2 separate regions of the Homo sapiens genome follow, and region 1 is linked to region 2. The links are contacts of gene promoters, found by promoter capture Hi-C in blood cells and fetal thymus (Javierre and others, 2016). All regions are on one chromosome and are shown on one strand. The core of a region is centred on a gene start or on the middle of the fragment in contact, and the rest is flanking DNA. Distances in the headings are between cores, read along the strand shown. Region 1 overlaps IFT140 (intraflagellar transport 140). Region 2 holds the start of TELO2 (telomere maintenance 2).

Region 1 (5,885 bases), core at 3,207-5,706, 78 kb after region 2:
TCCTTCTCCCAGTGGCCCCACCTCCCTGGCGGCACCTGCTCACCTGGCTTCCCAGGCCCCATCTGGGTTCTCAGGGCCACAGTGGCCACTGTTTTTCCTCCTTGGGGACATCCTCTCGCCTGTCCCTTGAGCTCCGCCTGCAGCCCTGGCCCTCCCTTCTGACCAGGTGTGGGACTGCCCACTGGCTGCCTCCCAGGCACCTGCCCTTCTGCTCATCCACCTTTGCAGCAAACATCTCCTCACCCAGTTTCCTTTCCCACCTGGCTGCAAAGGTTAGAAACACCTTCTGCAGCCCTGTCCTGCCCTACCCCTCCGCCAGTCCATCGTCAAGCCCCACTGCAGCTGCTCGAGCCCTCCAGTGGCTGCCACGGGGACCAAGTAGGCATCTGCACCCACCGACCCTTTGATTCATCTTCTAGAAAGAACCCTCTAGAAAGATGATATTGACATTATCCTCATCCTTCTGCCCTGAGGTGAAAGTCCCACCTGCATCAGCCTTGGCCCTGCCCTTCACCACGAGTGCAGACCCTCGATGAGGACAGGCTTTGCCAATGCCGGCCTCTGCCCTCTGCCCTCTGCTGTCCCCACCAGTCCTCACCCGCTCACTCTCGCCCCAACCTTGGCTGGGCTGTCACCCCCTCAGCAGGCCTGGCCGGAGCTCCACAGCAGCGCAGTGCTGTGCAGTTCCACACCCTCCAAGCACACGTGCCTCCTTCCCTGCTCATCCACAGGCAGTGGGCGGGGTCCTTGTGCTCACCTGAGCACCTCTGTGTCCGTGGTGCCTAGCACAGCGTCTGGCCCACGGCAGGAGATCAGTCACGGCCCTTGAACAAGCGAATGAACAAGGGAACCCGCACCAGCGGAAGGGAAGGAACCAGGGAAGGAACCAACCGGCTCCAAACAGCGCTGCCATGCCCTGCCACCCCTGCCAGACCCTTCCATGTGGCTGCCGCTGGCCCTCTGCACACCAACATCACCCTGCCTCTCTGAGTGGGACGCCTGAGGGCTCTCCAACAGTCCTGTGCCTCCTCGCGTGCCAAAGAAAACTGAGTGGGATGAAGAAGGCAGGGATGAAGAGGAAGCGAGCAACTCTCCAACAAGGAATCGACTGTTTCGATGAAGGAGGACTTGGAGAAAGGCAGGGGACAGAAGATGGCAGGTCGGGGAGGAACAGAGGCTGGGTGAGGACCATGCTGGGGAGGTTCCCGGAGAAGGTGGGAGGGAGAGACCCGGGGAGACGAGGGGAAGGAGAGTGGGGCTGAACAGAACACAGGACAGGAAGACTTGCACAGGAGGAGAGAGGCACGAGCAGGCAGGAGGCCTGGCCTGGGAGGACAGAGGTGAGGAGGCGGAGTGGGCGAGTGGACGAGGGGTGGCCTCACCTTGCTGGGGAGGATGCTGATGGTGCTCCCGCTGCTGCTGCACCGCAGAGAAGCGATGCCCCCCACCCCAGGGACCAGCTCCGCCAGGCTCCTGCAGCTACAGTGTGCTTTGGCCTCTCTGCAGGGAGGAAGAGGGACCTCAGTGCCCGCCAGAGGCCCAGTTCCCAATTCTCCGCCCACCCTGAAACCTCTGTTCACCGGATGAGTGCTGCACAGCTCTTAGGCTGCTTCTCACCCTGGGTGGCGCGTGTGCACCATGAGGTGGGGCAAACGCAAAACACAGGGTGAGTTCTTCCACCTCAGGTACTCTTACGAACAAGGACGAATATGAGTGCTTCGTCCCCTTCCTCTTGTTCAAGTAGCTTATTAAAAATGCTGTTCTAGGCCAGGCGTGGTGGCTCACACCTGTAATCCCAGCACTTTGGGAGGGTGAGGCAGGCAGATTATTTGAGGGTTGAAGCCAGGAGGCGGAGGTTGCAGTGAACCGAGATCATGCCACTGCACTCCAGCCTGGGCGACAGAGTGAGACTCCATCTCAAAAACAAAAAACGAAAAAAAACAAAACAACGCTGCTGTACGCCGTTCTATACCTGGAGTTTGTGCCTTATGCTCTGTTTCCGCGATTTTTCGTAGCACGTGGGGACTGCTTCATCGCCCGCTGTGACAGCTGCACAGTTTCCCGTCATAGGGACACACTGAGCTATTTAACTCGTCCCCTGCCAGTGACATTTAGCTGTTTCTAGTTTGTTGCTGACATAATCAATACAAAGTATGTAGTGGTAGCTTGTTTTTTTTTTTTTTTTTTTGAGACGGAGTCTCGCCCTGTTGCCCAGGCTGGAGTGCAGTGGCGCCATCTCGGCTCACTGCAAGCTCCGCCTCCCGGGTTCACGCCATTCTCCTGCCTCAGCCTCCCGAGTAGCTGGGCCTACAGGCGCCCGCCACCGCGCCCGGCTAATTTATTTTTGTATTTTTAGTAGAGACGGGGTTTCACCGTGTTAGCCAAGATGGTCTCGATCTCCTTGACCTCGTGATCCGCCCGCCTCAGCCTCCCAAAGTGTTGGGATTACAGGCGTGAGCCACCGCGCTCGGCCGTGGAATTCTTTTCTATGGGACACCTGTCTCTTCTCCTCTATTTATTGACTTACTCATATCATTCGGACTCACACTAGTCATTTTTTTACTTTGGTATATAATTCAAGCTTCTTTCCTTCCTCCCTCCCTCCCTCTTCCCTTCCCTCCCCTCCCTTCCCTTCTCTCCTTCCTTCTTTCCCTCCTCCCTCCCTCCCTTCTTTCCCTTTTTTCTTTCTTTCTTTCTCTCTTTTTGTCTTTTCCCTCCACTCCCCTCCTCTCCCTCCCCTCCCCTTCCTTTTCTCTCTCCCTCTCTCTCTCTGAGACAGGATCTCTCACTCTGTCGCCCAGGCTGTAGTGCAGTGGTGTGATCTTGGCTCACTGCAGCCTTGACCTCCTGGGCTCAAGTGATCCTCCTGCCTCAGCCACCTGAGTAACTGGTACTATAGATGCAAGTCACCATGCCTGGCTAATTTTTTTTTTTTAAGAAATTGGGTTTCACCATGCTGCCCAGGCTGGTCTTGAACTCCTGGGCCTAAGCAATCCACCTCTCTTGGCCTCCCAATGTGCTGGGACTTGCAGGATGAAATGGGCCACCCAGAAAAAAAAAAAATAATAAATAAATAAAATGCTGGGACTACAGGCATGAGCCACCGCATCTGGCCTGCTTTATTTATTTTGTTGCTCCAATTATTCCAGCTTTGGCTATTAGGACCTCTTTTGGTGGGGTCTGTGTCTCTGTGACCCCCACCCTGCCATCTTTATGAGGTTTTTTGGTTTGCTTTGTTTTTAGCACTTCCTCACTTTCGGGCAGCACAGATGCTGCCAGCTCATTTGTACATTTCCTGTCCTGGTCCTAGAGTCAGCATCTCTCCAAGGATCCATAGCTCCTTTATTGGAGGATGGTGGTAGAAACCAAGGTCTGGGCACCAGGTGTGCCTGCTGGGACAGGGTTGTTGCTTCTAGGCCCTCTCAGCTGACAGAGTGAGGAAATATGTGTGTACCAACGGGTACATTGATACAGACCTACGATTCTGTGTATGGAGTCATCCCTACCTACATGAAGCCAGGGATTTGTTCATGCTGACACCTCTACCTCTGATCCACTCTCCCAGGGCCTATTCTAGTCCCTCCACTTGCTAATCTGTAACTCCCACTCCCACTCCCACCACGCGATGCCAGGCTCCTGCCATCTACCCTCCATTTGCTCAGCTGTCCAATTCCAGTGCACACGCATCACAGGATCAGCGTTGCTCATCCCAACCCCTGTGGGGAGCAGAATTCTCCACTAGAGAGCCGAGCTCCTGTGCAGTTCCTTCGGCCTAAGTGCTCGCCAGGGCCTCCCCTCACTCCCAGAGCCACTTAGGTCAGCACTTTCCCCCCACACCCTTTAGTGAAGCTGTTTCATACATTTGGTAACACAGTGAGACTGTTTTGTTACCTTCTGTGTTCCGTCCTGGGGTCCTCTAACATTCTAAGTGATTTTTTTGAGACAGGGTCTCACTCTGTGGCCCAGGCTGGAGTGCAGTGGCACAACCACAGCTCACCGCAACCTCGATCTCCGAGGCTCAAGCAATCCTCCCACCTCAGCCTCCCAAGCAGGTGGGACTACAGGTACGTGCCACCATGCCCAGCTAATTTTTAAAAGTTTTTGTAGAGACAGGGTTTTGCTATGTTGCCCAGGTTGGTCTCAAACTCCTGGGCTCAAGCAGTCTTCTCGCCTTGGCCTCCCAAAGTGCTGGAAATACAGGTGTGAGCTACCCTGCCCAGCCTGAATGATTTTTTAAACATTTGTATACATTAAGGTTCACACTTTGCACCATAAAGCGCTATGATTTCCAACAAATGTACAATGTCATGCACTCATCATATAGAAGCTTCCCCACCCTCACCACTCCCTGTGCTTCAACTATTCAAGCCTCCTCTCCCCGACACGGCTCCACCACCAGGCAAAGGCCAGGAACTGAGCCCCAACATGAGGCATTCGAGAGCACAAGTGGCATGTCGGTGTTAAAATGGGCACCTAAGGAGTCTTCTGGCTTCTAACTCACTTTCTACCCATCACACTGTCTCCTGACTGACTAAAAAAATGTTCACACTTCTATTTGGAAAAAAAATTTACCTTCGGGAAAGATCAAAGCTTTTAAAGTGAGCCAAGTCTGTCCCTACAACCAGGAAATTCCCACAGATGTCCAAGAAGCAGGGATTCCCCTCAGTCTCCGAGAAAAGGAGGAGTTGTTTGACAGTCCCCTGAGGAAAAGGAACAAGAAATGGATATATTTCATGTTAGTTACTGAACATTGTTCACAGATAACCTTGTACACACAAGAAATGGATATATTTCATGTGAGTTACTGAACATTGTTCACAGATAACCTTGTACACTCCACTCATTCACTCGCTCAGTGTTTACTGACGGCTCAGAGTGTGCCCAGCACTCTGCTGGACTCTAGTGCTGCGGGGGAAGGACGGGGCCCTGTCCTCAGGAGAGCTCTGGTGCCTCCAGTCTAGAGGGGAAAACAGACAGCAGTGCGGTCGACAAACAAATACATATGTAATCTCAGCTGAGTAAGTGCCATGTAGGTAAAGAATGGGATCTCAGGAAAGTGCCAGGCACGGAGAGAGGGCGAATTCCATCCACTGGGGAGCTCTGGGGGGCCCTGTCTGTGGAGGCCCTGTCATGTGAAAGCCGCAGGAATACTTGTTACGTTGTGTCACGTGAATGGTTACCCTGGGTGAGGCGGTGGGGGAGAGGAAGGATGCTAGTTACATGCTGGCAATGTCCCACCCGCGAAAAGCCCCTGCACCGTACGCTTAGGCACGACGCACCCACTCTTTCTAAGTGTGTGGGTATTTCAGTAAAATGTTTAAGAAGTCAGCCAGGTGGGCAGAGGCCACAGGGGCGTTCCTGCAGGCTGAGGGGAAGAGTGAGATTTCCTTCTAAGTGAAACTGGAAGACTGCAGGGTTTTGAGCTGGGAAGTGATTTCGCATCATTTATATTTTCAAAGCATCACCTTGGCCTTTCCAGCATGTTAGAAAGCACGTCCCACAGTCGGCACGTTAGAAAGCATGCCCCACAGGCCGGGCGCGGTGGCTCACGCCTGTAATCCCAGCACTTTGGGAGGCCAAGGCGCGTGGATCATGAGGTCAGGAGATCGAGACCATCCAGGCTAACACGGTGAAACCCCGTCTCTACTAAAAATACAAAAAATTAGCCGGGTGTGGCGGTGGGTGCCTGTAGTCCCAGCTACTCGGGAGGCTGAGGCAGGAGAATGGTGTGGACCCGGGAGGTGGAGCTTGCAGTGAGCCGAGAACATGCCACTGCACTCCAGCCTGGGCGACAGAGCAAGACTCCATCTCAAAGAAACAACAACAAAAAAGAAAGCATATACCCCACAGTCACCCCACAGTTGCGCTGGAGCAGACCTCATGCT
Region 2 (5,408 bases), core at 2,237-4,736:
TTTTAGTAGAGACGGGGTTTCACCATGTGGGCCAGGCTGGTCTCAAACTCCCGACCTCAGGTGATCCACCCGCTGTAGCCTCCCGAAATGCTGGGATTACAGGCATGAGCCACCGCGCCCGGCCAATTTTTGTATTTGTAGTAGAGACGGGGTTGCCCCATGTGGGCCAGGCTGGTATTTTTGGTTACAGGTTGTGTACTGGCTTGAATGAGACCCTCCTAAAAACACACATAAGCCCCAGGCAGGGCCTTATGTGGAAAAGGTCTCTGCGGATGTCATGAAGGATTTTGAGATGAGACCATCCTGGATTATCCAGGTGGCCCTAAAGCCAATGACAGGGGTACAAGAGACAGAGGAGGAGGCACAGAGGACACGGCCTGTGAAGATGGGGCAGAGACTGGGGTGACGCTGCCACGAGGAACCCCCAGAGGCCCCAGAAGCTGGAAGAGGTAAAGTGGGAACCCCCAGCCCAGAGCCTTCGAGGGAGTGTGCACCTTCACTTCAAGACTTCCAGCCCCCAGAACTGTGATAGGACTCATTTCTGTTGTTTCAAGCCGCCCAGCTCATGGGAATAAGATCATCCACAAAGTTGTCCCACTGGGGGCATCCATCATTCCCAAGGTGGCATGAGCCAAGAGGGTGCCAGGCCAGGAAACCATCGGTGGCCCCCAGGCTCCCCTTGTCAAGCGTCAGAACACCATGGACATGGAGAAGATGCAGAAAGCATCGGAGAGAACATCCTGGGCACATGGACGGGGTTGGGGCCTTAGGCCCCGGGGGACTGGCAGCCACCAGGACAGCGACGCTGGTGCCACACACAGAGCGGCGGATCTCGCAGCTTCCAACTGACAGTGAGTTCCATTTATTTATGTATTTATTTTATTTCGGTAGAGAAGGGTCTTGCTATGTTGCCAGGCTGTTCTCAAACACTCCTGGGCTCAAGCAATCCTCCCAGCTCAGCCTAGCCAAAGTGCTGGGTTTACTGGCGTGAGCCACTGAGCCTGCCTGATTTCCATTTAAAGTTGTGGGTCGGGGCAGGGTGTGGTGGCTCTCTCCTGTAATCCCAGCACTTTGTGAGGTCAAGGTGGGCAGATCACTTGAGTCCAGGAGATCGAGACCAGGCTGGGCAACATGGCAAAACCCCGTCTCTACTAAAATTACAAAAATCAGCCAGACGTGGTGGTGTGCACCTGCAGTCCCAGCTACTTGGAAGGCTAAGGCGGGAGGATCGCCTGAGCCGGGGAGAAGGAGGTTGCAGTGAGCTGAAATCGCGCCACTACACTCCAGCCTGGGTGACAGAGCAAAGAATAAAGACATTTTCAGACACACAAAGGCTTGAGAAATTTGTCCTCCAAGCACCCACTGTTGGATGCGGGGCTTCAGGAAAAGAAGGGAATAGGGAAGGACGGAGCTGCCGTGGGCACTGGCGAGGGCTGGAACCCAGCAGCGGACGGAGGAGGAGTTTCCGGGATGATGGGATGCTGCCTGCCCCATATCCCATCCATCAGCTCTGCCTGCAGAGACATGCCCTGAGTTCAGCTGCTTCTCTACACCCCCATTCCGCCCCAAGCTCATCCTCACAATGGCCACCTAGTCCCCTCGTCCGTGTCGCCCCCCTACCGTCTGCTCTCCTAACTGCACCAGCATGGACCCGTGCCTTCAATGGCTCCAGGAGATGCCTGCCACACAAGCAAAATCTTAGTCCCTGCGAGGGCCTTCTGTGGCCTGGCCCACTGCCTCACTCCCTCCAGGCCTCACCCCTGCATATGCCTCCCTCGGCTCCACCTCCCGGGCAACAGTTGCGGCCTCAGGCCTTTGCACCTGCCGTTTTCCTGCCAGTGAGACTCTTCCCTGGCTGTCAACACATTCAGGGCTCTGCTCTAAGGTGTTCTGTTCAGAGCTCTCACCTTACGTAAGACAGCACCCACTGCTCTCTGGCTCTTTTCTTTTTTTTTTTTTTTGGAGGAGTCTCGCTCTGTCACCCAGGCTGGAGTTCAATGGCACAATCTCCACTCATTGCAACCTCTGCCTCCTGGGTTCAAGCAATTCTCCTGCCTCAGCCTCCCAAGTAGCTGGGATCACAGACACATGCCACCACGCCCAACTAATTTTTGTATTACTATTATTATTATTATTATTCTTTTTTTAGGAGAGACGGGGTTTCACCATGTTGGCCAGGCTGGTCTCGAACTCCTGAGCTTGTGACCCACCCGTCTCGGCCTCCCTAAGTGCTGGGATTAGAGGTGTGAACCACTGTGCCCGGCCACTGGCTCTTATTTTCTTACCCTACCGGTTTTTTATTTTGATTCCTTTTTTTTTTTTGAAACAGGGTCTTGCTCTGTTGTCCAGGCTGGAGTGCAGTGGCAGTGAACATGGCTCACTGCAGCCTCAACCTCCCGGGCTCAAGCCATCCTCCCACCTCAGCCTCCTGAGTAGCTGGGATCACAGGCTCATGACACCGTGCCTGGCTAATTTTTAAATTTTTTGTAGAGACAGGGTCTCACTATTTTTCCCATTCTTGAACTTCTGGGTGCAAACGATTCTCCCACCTCAGCTTCCCAGTGCTGGAATTACCGGCGTGAGCCACCGGGCCCGGCCTCTGCCAGTTTTTCTGCTCGAGGCCTGTCACCTGGCATATTTCGTATGTACTTTATCTGTTCCCCCGATAGGTGAGCAGGAACTTTGCATCATTTGTTGCTCAGAAGGCTTGGTGCACCAAGCAGGCATTTAATCAATGTTTGTTGAATGGATAACTGTTCCCCAGCTTTTCCCACATCCATCACTGCTGAAATGGCGCCTCTTTAGGTGTCTTCCTGGATTGCCCCCTCCACAAAGATGAAGCCCCCCACACTCCGCTGCGGTGTACAGAAGGCACTGCATGTTGTAAATGTTCAGTGTCCGGCTGTCCAGCCTGGCGGCCACAGCCAAAGGTAGTACCGAGCCCTTGAGATGGGGCTAGTGCTGCAAGGGAACTGGACTTATTTAACTTCAGTTAATTTACAGAGCCACATGCGTCTAGCGCTTACCCTACTGGTCGCAGTTTTTATTCCACGACCCGGCCTCATTTACGGAGCTGCAATTGTTCAGATCTGACATGATCTCAACTGCTCTTTTACTTCCTTGTGTACCGTGCGTTTCCCTTACTGGCCTCTGACCCTTGAAAGCAGAGCCTTACATCCGGGGAAGACGAGCCAGGCCTGTCTTGGTAAACATCTGCCTTAGAGCGAACGCTCGGCGTTCTGGAGAGAATGTGGGACCCGAGGCGGAGGGAAGAGACGGCTGACATCACTCCAGGGTAGGGACGACCGAGATGGGAGAAACTAAGGCGAGAACCCACCACCCGGGCGCAGCGAACCCAGCTCGCAGCCACGTGGGGAAGCGCGGCCCTGCCCTCAGGCCCCGCCCCACTCACGCGTCAGGCCCCGCCCACCCCACCGCCCCCCGCTCCCGCGTCCAGGCTCCGCCCCGTCCCCGCGCAGCGCAGGCGCAGATGCGCCCTCCCGCCTGGCGTCCTCCGCAGATTCGCGCTGAGAGGCCCGCGGAGACCCGCCCCAGAGGCTCAAGAAAACCCGCGGGAGCCTCGCCCGGACCCAGGAACTCGTGCTCGGGGCCAACCGGCTGGGCCGCGATCGCGTTTCGTCCGGGGCCGCGGCGGCCGTGGGGAATCGGCTGCAGCGAATCGGTGGCGCGCGGCGCCTGAGCGCGCTGCAGTCACCCGGGAGCCGGGTCCAGGTCGGGTTGGGGGTCGGGGATCGGGGATCGGGGGTCCGGTTGGGTCGGGTTGGGCTCCAGGTCTGGTTGGGTCGGGTCCAGGTCGGGTAGGAGTCCGGTCGGGGTCCGGGTACAGGTCGGGGTCCGGGCCTGGATCGGGGGCGGGTCCGCGTGCGGCTCCTCTAGCCCCGAACCCGTGTTCCCCGTAAGCTGTTGGTTTCTAAGGGGCGGAGGAATGGCGACTGGAGCCACCTCTCACCGCTCAGGGAGCCGGGAGGGCCGGCAGCTCCCGCGGGCCGAGTTTCCCGCCTTGGGTGCGAGGACGCGTGGGGCCGCGCTGTGCCCGGGGAACACTCACCAGCATCTCTAGCCTCCACCTCCCTCTCGCGCCAGTGGCACTCCCGGTTGAGACAACTGAGAATGTTCCCTGGGCACAGTGGCCCGGGTTGAGAAGCCCTGCAGTGGCTGGTAGCGTTGGGGTCCGAGCGGAGGAGCGAACTCTGGGTGGAAACCGGCAGGCACTGGAGGGGAAGGAGGCGGGACAGGGTTGGGTGGGACCAGGGTTGAGGGGTGTGGGGTCTCGGGGCGCTCACCGAGGGGCTTCCTGAGCTTGTGTGGATTATTTCCGTGCCCCAAGCTGAGCCCTGTGTCCATGTCACAGGTCGTCTTCCCGTGACGCCCAGATCTGTCCTGCAGGATGGAGCCAGCACCCTCAGAGGTTCGACTCGCCGTCCGGGAAGCCATTCATGCCCTCTCGTCTTCGGAGGATGGCGGCCACATCTTCTGCACCCTGGAGTCCCTGAAGCGGTATCTCGGTGAGATGGAGCCTCCAGCGCTCCCGAGGGAGAAGGAGGAGTTTGCCTCGGCCCACTTCTCGCCTGTCCTCAGATGTCTTGCCAGCAGGCTGAGCCCAGCCTGGCTGGAGCTGCTGCCCCATGGCCGCCTGGAGGAGCTGTGGGCCAGCTTCTTCCTGGAGGGCCCGGCGGACCAAGCCTTCCTGGTGTTGATGGAGACCATCGAGGGTGCTGCGGGGTGAGTGGGCTGGGCCCATCCTGGGGTTGCCGGTAGCCTCAGAAGTGATGAGAGTGGCTTGAAGGACTGGACCAAGAGCCTCTCTAGTCCCTGTGAGGGGCTAGAGAGAGAGCCTGCTCCTGGCTGAACCCCTGAACAGAAGAAGCGGTCTGTGTCTGTCTCCTTTGCGACGGGAGGCACCTGCTGTGTCTCACAAAGTCCCCCACTTGCTCCCCGTCCGGCTGTGTCAGAGAGGGATGGGGTGGGAGTGTTCACATCCCAGGCGGCAGAGGCAGCCCGTCAGCTGGGGACGTTCCAGGTTTTCCAGGGAAGCACAGCTGTCATCACTGACACGTGTCCCATGTGGACTCCCAGCCCCAGCCGGCTCCCAGGCTCAGCCTCAGATCACACTGCAGTCCTTGCCGGGACACTGCATCTTGAGAAGCTGGGTTTTCAGAGGTTGCTGTGATCAAAGCAAGCACTGAGTTATCCGCGTCAGCAGCAGGGGAGGGGTGTCCAGTGAGACTCCAGGTTGGGGAAGCCGCTCAGGGCCCCGAGAGCTCTCACACAGTAATCGCAGTTATTTAGGAATGGATTAACAGATTTTCCCATCCGGCTTGTGGTTTTGGACTTCACGCTGGTTATGTTGTTGGGGCTGCCCGTGTAATCCGGGCTGCTGGTTCCTT

What was found. Contacts are between HindIII fragments. The CHiCAGO score rates a contact against its expected background, and 5 or more counts as called.
Region 1: a fragment that was not itself captured here is called in contact with the fragment with the promoter of TELO2 in region 2 in 2 of 17 cell types (M1 macrophages and megakaryocytes); the score reaches 6.2 in M1 macrophages.

The regions. Positions count from the first base shown.
Region 1 is chr16:1,566,835-1,572,719 of GRCh38, forward strand. It overlaps IFT140 (intraflagellar transport 140), which reads right to left. Exons shown (of 31, transcript NM_014714.4): 14 at 4,573-4,700; 15 at 1,383-1,500. Among named protein-coding and RNA genes, the nearest start is that of TMEM204, 36 kb to the left of the region's middle. The HindIII fragment of the contact is 263 bases long and covers 4,326-4,588 here.
Region 2 is chr16:1,489,874-1,495,281 of GRCh38, forward strand. TELO2 (telomere maintenance 2) reads left to right here and starts at 3,487. Exons shown (of 21, transcript NM_016111.4): 1 at 3,487-3,732; 2 at 4,373-4,743. The coding sequence starts at 4,409. RefSeq lists enhancers at 3,145-3,194, 3,292-4,192, 5,094-5,408 and silencers at 3,405-3,494, 3,665-3,714, 3,725-3,924. The HindIII fragment of the contact is 10,177 bases long and covers 1-5,408 here.